Linked DNA regions of Homo sapiens: region 1 is linked to region 2. The links are contacts of gene promoters, found by promoter capture Hi-C in human tissues and cell types (Jung and others, 2019). All regions are on one chromosome and are shown on one strand. The core of a region is centred on a gene start or on the middle of the fragment in contact, and the rest is flanking DNA. Distances in the headings are between cores, read along the strand shown.

Evidence for each region. The method cuts DNA at HindIII sites, captures the fragments that hold promoters and counts their contacts. A contact is called where the count stands out against the background at its distance.
Region 1: a contact is called between a fragment that was not itself captured here and the fragment with the promoter of PRLHR in region 2, in 1 of the 25 tissues and cell types used here (dorsolateral prefrontal cortex).

Annotation. Positions count from the first base shown.
Region 1 is chr10:118,629,498-118,633,278 of GRCh38, forward strand. No RefSeq gene overlaps it. Among named protein-coding and RNA genes, the nearest start is that of PRLHR, 36 kb to the left of the region's middle. The HindIII fragment of the contact is 7,725 bases long and covers 1-3,781 here.
Region 2 is chr10:118,593,967-118,597,579 of GRCh38, forward strand. PRLHR (prolactin releasing hormone receptor) reads right to left here and starts at 1,682. Exons shown (of 2, transcript NM_004248.3): 1 at 1,550-1,682; 2 at 1-1,284. The coding sequence starts at 1,278. The coding sequence ends at 166. RefSeq lists enhancers at 641-1,449, 1,450-2,258, 2,259-3,067. The HindIII fragment of the contact is 7,132 bases long and covers 1-3,613 here.

The sequences.
Region 1 (3,781 bases), core at 447-2,946, 36 kb after region 2:
GCAGCTGTTTCAGCCAAGTTGATGAGGTACTTTGTCTTGGGAAGAAGTGGCAATTTAACAGTTCTCATAAACCCAAATCTCTGGGCTCCCAAATACATTGCACCGGTGAGGCTAATGCTAATGTTGCCCTTTGGAAACTTCAAAAACACAGGTGACCTTCTCAGTAATAACCTCCTTCCTTACAGCTTGTCTGTCATTTTGTCTACACAGAGATATGCTTGGATATGGTGGGGCCTCAGGGCTCACAATGATGCCAGAACTTAGAGCTGCCATGCAGATGGGCAGTGGGCAGGTAAAAAGAGGCTTATGTGTGGTTGTGTGGTTTCTAGTTTAGAAGACGGGGAGAATGGTGTTTCCAAAGACTGGAATAGGGTCGCTGGTTGGTACCATCTTATTTCATCATCATTTCTCCCCTGTTCAGCCCAGCGATAAGCATCTAGTAGAGGCTTAATCATATTTGTGGATGATTCAATAATTGAGTAAATGAAATTGAAGTCAGAATATGCTCTCAGAGGAAGGAAGGGAATAAATCAGGGATCAAACACTCCACTCCATCAGGGACTCTATTGGTCAGGTTTCAATTGCAGCTCAGTTCCCCTTTATCTAGCTAGTTTAAGGAGAAGTGAATTTAAGTCAGGGAATTGGGTACTTACAGGGGCATTGGAAGGGATGGAGGAATAAATAGTCTGTAGGCTGAGAGGAGATTCCTAAAAAACATCACAGAACTGCTCCGCCAAAGGAAGGGAATTGACACTTCTGCTATAATCAAAAAGCTGAGGAGGTACCAAATAGCTACTGGCTGGAGGTCTCCACCTCTGGTGGCCAGGGTTCAGGAAGCTGCTCCTAGGGCTGTTGGCTCCAGAGTCATGTTGTGCCTGTTGGAATCCAGCACGGAAAATAGGTGCTGCAAACCTCCCCACTTAGTTCTGAATTCATGTCCCAAGCAAGTGCATCTGATTGATAAATCTGAATCCCATCCAGAGCCATTCCTGCAAGGAGCTTGGGACAGGCAGATCTTAGCTTCCCAGCCTCTACCAGAGAGGAGGGTATCCTAGAAGTGGGTTGGAATGGATGCTGAGTGAACCCACCTACCATCTCTACTACGAGTGCCAATGTGGCTGGTATAAAACAGTGGGTGTGGTACCTGAGGGAGATTCAAAATGATTCAAGAACATTGTGCTGGCCAGGTGAGACACATCTCAGCTACACCTGCCTCACTCTGGGACCATGAGGCTCCTGCCATGAACAAAAGCTAGAGAGGCTGGAGGAGAGCTCTAGGTGAATGCCCCAAGTAGGGAGGAGGGGAGGAAGAAAAGCCAGTAAAGCAAGCATGAAAGGAAAAGGAGCAGGGAAGGAGAGAAACCAGGAAGATGGGAGTGGCCACCTGTATTAGGGTTCTCTTAGAGGGACAGAACTAATAGGAGATATATGTGTGTGTGTGCGTGTGTGTGTGTGTGTATATATATATATATACACACACACACACACACGCACACACACACATATATATATGGGAGTTTATTAAGTATAAATTTACATGATCACAAGGTCCCACAATAGGCCGTCTGCAAGCTGAGGAGCAAGGGGAGCCAGTCTGAGTCCCAAAACTGAAGAACTTGGAGTCCGATGTTCAAGGGCAGGAAGCATCCAGCACAAGAGAAAGATGTAGGCTGGGAAGTTAGGGCCATCTCTCCTTTCCATGTTTTTTTTCTGCCTGCTTTATATTTGCTGTAAGATGACTAGATTGTGCCCATCAGATTAAGGGTGGATCTGCCTTCCCCAGTCCACTGACTCAAATGTTAATCTCTTTTGGCAACACCCATACAGACACACCCCGGATTAATGCTTTGTATCCCTCAATCCAATCAAATTGACACTCAGTATTAAACCATCACACACCCATCATCAGAGAAGAGGAGGCCCCTGTAAGATGTACAGGGGCAGCAGGGGAAAGCCGCACTGGAGGGAGTGAAACAGGCCCTTTGGCAGGACCTGGTAAAGCTGAAAATGCACACCCAGTCTCCTTTTGAGAGACTCACACACAGCCTCAGGGAGGCAGGCACAGGCACAGCCACCAGAGTTAGGGAGAAATTCCCACCCGGATGTCCAGCAGTCATTGTAAAGTGGTGGGTACACAGCATGTAATACTTCACAGTTAAACGGAAGTATATGTGTGTGTCCAGATCATATATGTCAACACAGATTTCAAAAACAATGTTGGATGGGAAAAGCAAGATGACAAATGTGTCTAGAACAATGCCATTTGTGTCAATTTTGAAAACACACGTATGAATCCTGCTCAAGGACATGGAAGCATGTGTGTACTTATTGCAGACTGGAAGCATCCACAGTAACCTCCTGCTACAGGTTAACTCGGGATGGTTGTGGGGAGTGAAATGGGATTGGTCAACATAGCTTAACAGGACTGTACCTCCATTGCTAATGCTTATTTATTTAAGTATGGAAGAAAATAGGATGTTAACAGCTACTAATTTAAGTGGTGACAATGTCTTGGTTATATTCTTTTTGTACTTTGGTTGGTGGTTTAGATTTTTGCTCCCCCAAAAGCTCATGCTGAAATTTGATCCCCAGTGTTGAAGGTGGGGCCTAATGGGAGGTGTTTGGGTCAGGGGGGTGGATCCCTCATGAATGGCTTAGTGCTGCCCTTGAGATAATGAGTGAGTTCTCATTATCTCCACAAGAGCTGGTTGTTGAAAAGAGCATGGTACCTCCCCCTCGCTCTCTTGCTTCCCCTCTTGCCACGTGAGCTCTGCACATGCCCACTTCCCTTCACCTTCTTCCATGAGTGGAAGCAGCCTGAGGTACTTATCAGAAGCTGAATCAATGCCAGTGCCATGCTGCTTGTATGGCCTGCAGAACCATGAGCCAAAGAAACCCCTTTTCTTTATAAATGGCCCAGCCTCAGATATTCCATTATGGCAACACTAAACAGACTAAGACAAGTACTTTTCCATGCAATTTAATTTCTCACAAAATAGATTTTTTTAAGAAAAGAGAGTGGGTGATTCTGAAGTGGTTTTGCACATTTAATGCCACTCAATGCACATTTGTTTCTTACTGACCTGTTTGGATGCTATGATTGTTGTCTAGTGGGAGAGGCAGGATTTGCCAGGGCCAAGGTTTAGGCAAATTGATGGGGCTTCAAGCAGCTCATCTCTGCATTTGGTGATGCAATCTAAAAACATCCCAGCTCTGCTGCTCTGGAGGGCAGGTAGACAGGCTCAGCAGACTGGCAGGGACGTGGACAGGTACCCTCCACCAGAGCCTGGCTGCCCCCATTCTCAGGATTAGTGGTCCCCTCCAATCCCTCCTCTGAACTTTTCCCCCTCACCCTAAGGAGTCAGAGGGCAATGAGAAAAGTATCCCAGAGAGCAAGGCAGTTGTTCTCTCCAAGGAGAACACATGAACTAAAGCAGGGAAGTAGAGTCCTCACAGGAGACAGAGCCTCGACTCTTTCTGGTGAGCCTGACCTTGTCCTGGTTGCTTATCTCAGGCTATCTCCTCCACTTTCATAAACTCTGATCTCCTAGGCAGAGACTGGGAGAAAATCCCATTGGATGAATGCCCATGTATACCAGGCTCTGAGGCAGACACACACTCACACAACAGATTCACTCTCTGCTGTCTCCCAACAAGCCTGTGGGTGACTTAGGGCTCCTTGGTTGCAAGCAAGAGAAACTAACGCTGGAGAATGTAAACAAAAAGGGGTCTATCAGAAGGTTATTGGTTAGGCTCATGGAAGTGACAAGAAGACTGGAGA
Region 2 (3,613 bases), core at 432-2,931:
ACAAGGACAAGACAGACAGCCGGACAAGAGGGCTGGGCTGGAAATGTTGCCCTATGTTGGCTTAGCTAGCTCTGGTGCTGAGAATAAGCACCAGATTGACCTCGAGTGGTGCCCTAGGAGGCCAGTTGAAGTGGAGCTCCTTGACCAAGGCCTGGCTAAGTGGCATCAGATGACCACGCTGACGGTCATATTCTGGCCATGGGGGGCTATCTTGCGGGGCCAAGCGACCAACAGTTTGCGCAGCTCCTCGCGGAAGCTGTCGTGCAGCCAGGCGTAGATGAAGGGGTTGTAGCAGGCCGAACTCATGGCGAGCCAGTGGCAGAGCAGCTGCACCAGCCCAAAGGCGTAAGGGTCGATGGCGTGGGGGTCGAGGTCCCGCAGCAGGTTGAAGACGTGCAGCGGCAGCCAGCAGACGGCGAACACCACCACGATCACCACCAGCAAGCAGAAGGTGCGCCGGCGCCGAGCGCGGTCCCAGTCGGCCTGGCTCTGGGTCACGCAGCCCGGCACCACGCGGTTGCGGAGCTTCACTGACACCCGGACGTAAGACAGGAGGATGACCAGCAGAGGGAGCAGGTAGGTGACCAGCAGCAGCCCCCAGGCGTAGAGCTGGCGCTGGCGCTCCTGGGAGCCCCAGAACTCCTCGCAGAGGCGCACGTCGTGCGGCTTGAGCTCCACGTGATAGGTGTGCACGGCGGCGGGCAGCGCCAGCACCGCGGACAGCGCCCAGATGGCCAGCACAGCGTAGGCGCTGAGGCGCAGCGAGATGCGCCGCCTCAGCGGGTGCACCAGCACGACGTAGCGGTCCACTGCGATGGTGGTGAGCGTGAACACCGACACATAGACGGTGACCGGCTGCAGGAAGAAGACCAGGTGGCACAGGCCGCCGCCGAACACCCAGCCGCGTGGCTCGAAGGCATAGGCCAGCGTGAGCGGCACGCAGGCGGTGCACATGAGCACGTCGGACAAGGCCAGGTTGCCGATGAGGAAGTTCGTCACGTTGTGCAGCCGGCGCACCCGCGCGATCACCAGCACCAGCAGGCAGTTGCCCACCAGCCCCACGACCACCACGACGCTGTAGAGCAGCACGATCAGCCCCTTCAGCTGATGCACCAGCTGCAGGCTCTGGAAGGGCGTGACGGCTGGAGCGTCCGCGCCAGCCACCGACCCGTTGCCCGCCGAGGCCTCTGCGCTCTGGTTGGCGGGAGTTGTGACCGCCGGCGGCAGCCCAGAAAATAAGTCAGAAACCCTGGGGCCCCGAGTGGTCGATGAGGCCATGGCCACCTGTTCAAAGGTAATCAAAGTCCGTCACTTCCCTTGCCATACTCCATCCGACCTCCTACACCAGCCGCGCCCCTCCCCCATCGCCTGAGTCCTCCCTTGGGAATAACCGGCCACAGAACAACAGCAAAAGTAGCAAAAAGTGTTGTCCTCTCACCTCTGTAAAATAAACCTAAGCACGGTTAGAACATACGGTTTATTTAAACGCTTCCGCCTCTATTTACGGTCCTCGCAGTCCACGCAGGCAGACTCAGGAGCGCGATCCTACCTGGGAGTGGGGTTTGGAGAGCGGGAAAGCACTCGCGGGAAGAAGGGGCAGAATTTCTGCTGGCCCTCGGTAGTCCTCTGCCCACGTCGGTGATCCGGTCTCGCTTCTCCGCGGGAGCTGAACGGATCCAAATGTTTCCCAGTGGGCTAGCAGCTTCTTAGAGGGACTGGGAGCGCCTCCCCTCAGCTCCGCCCCCCACTCCAGCTCCCATGTATGGAAAATAGGGGTGGAGCGCGCTCTGCCATGCTCGGTGCTTAGAGAACTAGTGAAGAGGACAGTGTGGGGAGGATGGAATCCGAAACGGGAGGAGGGGCCGGCAAACCTGGCCAGAGCAGCGAAGAGGACGAATCTCTACTGCAGGAGCTTGCACGGCCCCTGGAGGGTCAGGGTCCGGAGGAGCGCACAGTGGAGGAGGGCGGAGGAGAGGCGCGAAGCGTCAGGCTATCGGGAGGAGCCGGTGCAGTCTTAGGAGGGAAGGAGCGGGGAAGGAAGTAGCGGTGGGAGATTGCAATGCAGCTGGGGGCTTGAGAGAGGCACGACTGACCCGTTCTTAAAGGCTGGATCCTGCCTAGCGGCCAGGTTGCGGAGGGCAGAGACGCTAGAGGGCTCGGGCTGGGATTTAACAGCAGAGCCTGGAGCTGGTCGCGGACCTGAGGACCCTCACCCTCCCGTGGCCCCGCCACACGAGCCCCCTGCTTGGCTGCAGCGCGCTCAGCGGGCAGCGGGTCCGGCCAAGCCAAAGGCAGGAGTCAGCACCACGGACAGCTTCCGCTGGATCTGCCGCCCCTCGGGCGGATGATGTGGGGAGGAGCAGGGGAAAATGACTAGGGAATTCCTGCCCCTCTCTGGATCCGGGTGTTTGGGGAAGGAACCTGGTCCGGTTCAAAGACCTGCCTCGCTGCCTGCTTTCTGGGCTGGGGCTGAGAAGAGTAGGGTGGAGTGGAGGCAGCTGAGCCGGGGGCCTGGGGGTCGGAGACTCATGACTTTTGCTCCTCTTGGTGGTCACCGCACTCAGTGCCAAGGACGGCGTCGTCTTTTACCTCCCGGGGTCAGAAAATGCAGCTCTCCTGCCAGTTATTCTACACAGGCACACTTCAGTCTGGCCCAGCGACTCCCCGGCTCACCCTTTCTCTCGCTTTCTTTCTCGGCTACCGCGACCTGTGCCGTATCTGGCTGCTTCTCCCAGCACAGAGTAGTTCCTGGACTGAGACTTGACCCCTCCCTCCTTGACTGAACACCCACAGGCCTCTTCTCTTCATTTTAGGATTTTTTAAAAATACTGGTAATTGCAGATTTCAGCTAGGGTAACAAAAGTAACAAACATTTGAGAAGCTTAGGCGTTTCATAAAATCTTCAGTAGTATTAAGTCCTCATTGAAATGCAAATTAGCCTGGCCCACGGGGCAAGAGCCAGGGGAGGAGGGGCCTTTGTAAGCTCCCTCCTTAGAAGCTATCTCATTCCCTCAGCCTCTTGTTTCCTTTTTCCAGAGCATGGAGCTTCATTGTCTCCTCTCTGATAAGTCCTTGTACTTTGTCCTCTGGCTGCAGATATTCCAGTTAGACTGGAAACTAATATCAATTTATTCCACCCTCCAAATTTAAATGAATCACTCATATAGAAAAAAGTCAATATTGGAACAAAAGTAATCAATGTTATGCACCTCTGTCCATCCTAAGCTCACGGTCCCTGAGTTATAATCAATTTAGCTAAAACCAGTGTGTGTGTATATATACATGTATATGTTAGGACAAGATCTCACTCTGTCACCCAGGCTGGAGTGCAGTGGCACAATCATGGCTCACTGCAGCCTCAACCTCCCAGGCCAAAGCCATCCTCCCACCTCTCAGCCTCTCAAGTAGCTGGAACTACGGGTGCACACCACCATGCCTGACTAATTTTTGTTTATTTGTTTCTTTTGAGGCGGAGTCTTGCTCTGTCGCCAGGCTGGAGTGCAGTGGTGTGATCTCAGCTCACTGCAACCTCTGCCTCCCAGGTTCAAGCGATTCTCCTGCCTCAGCCTCCCGAGTAGCTGTGACTACAGGCACGTGCCACCATGCCCAGATG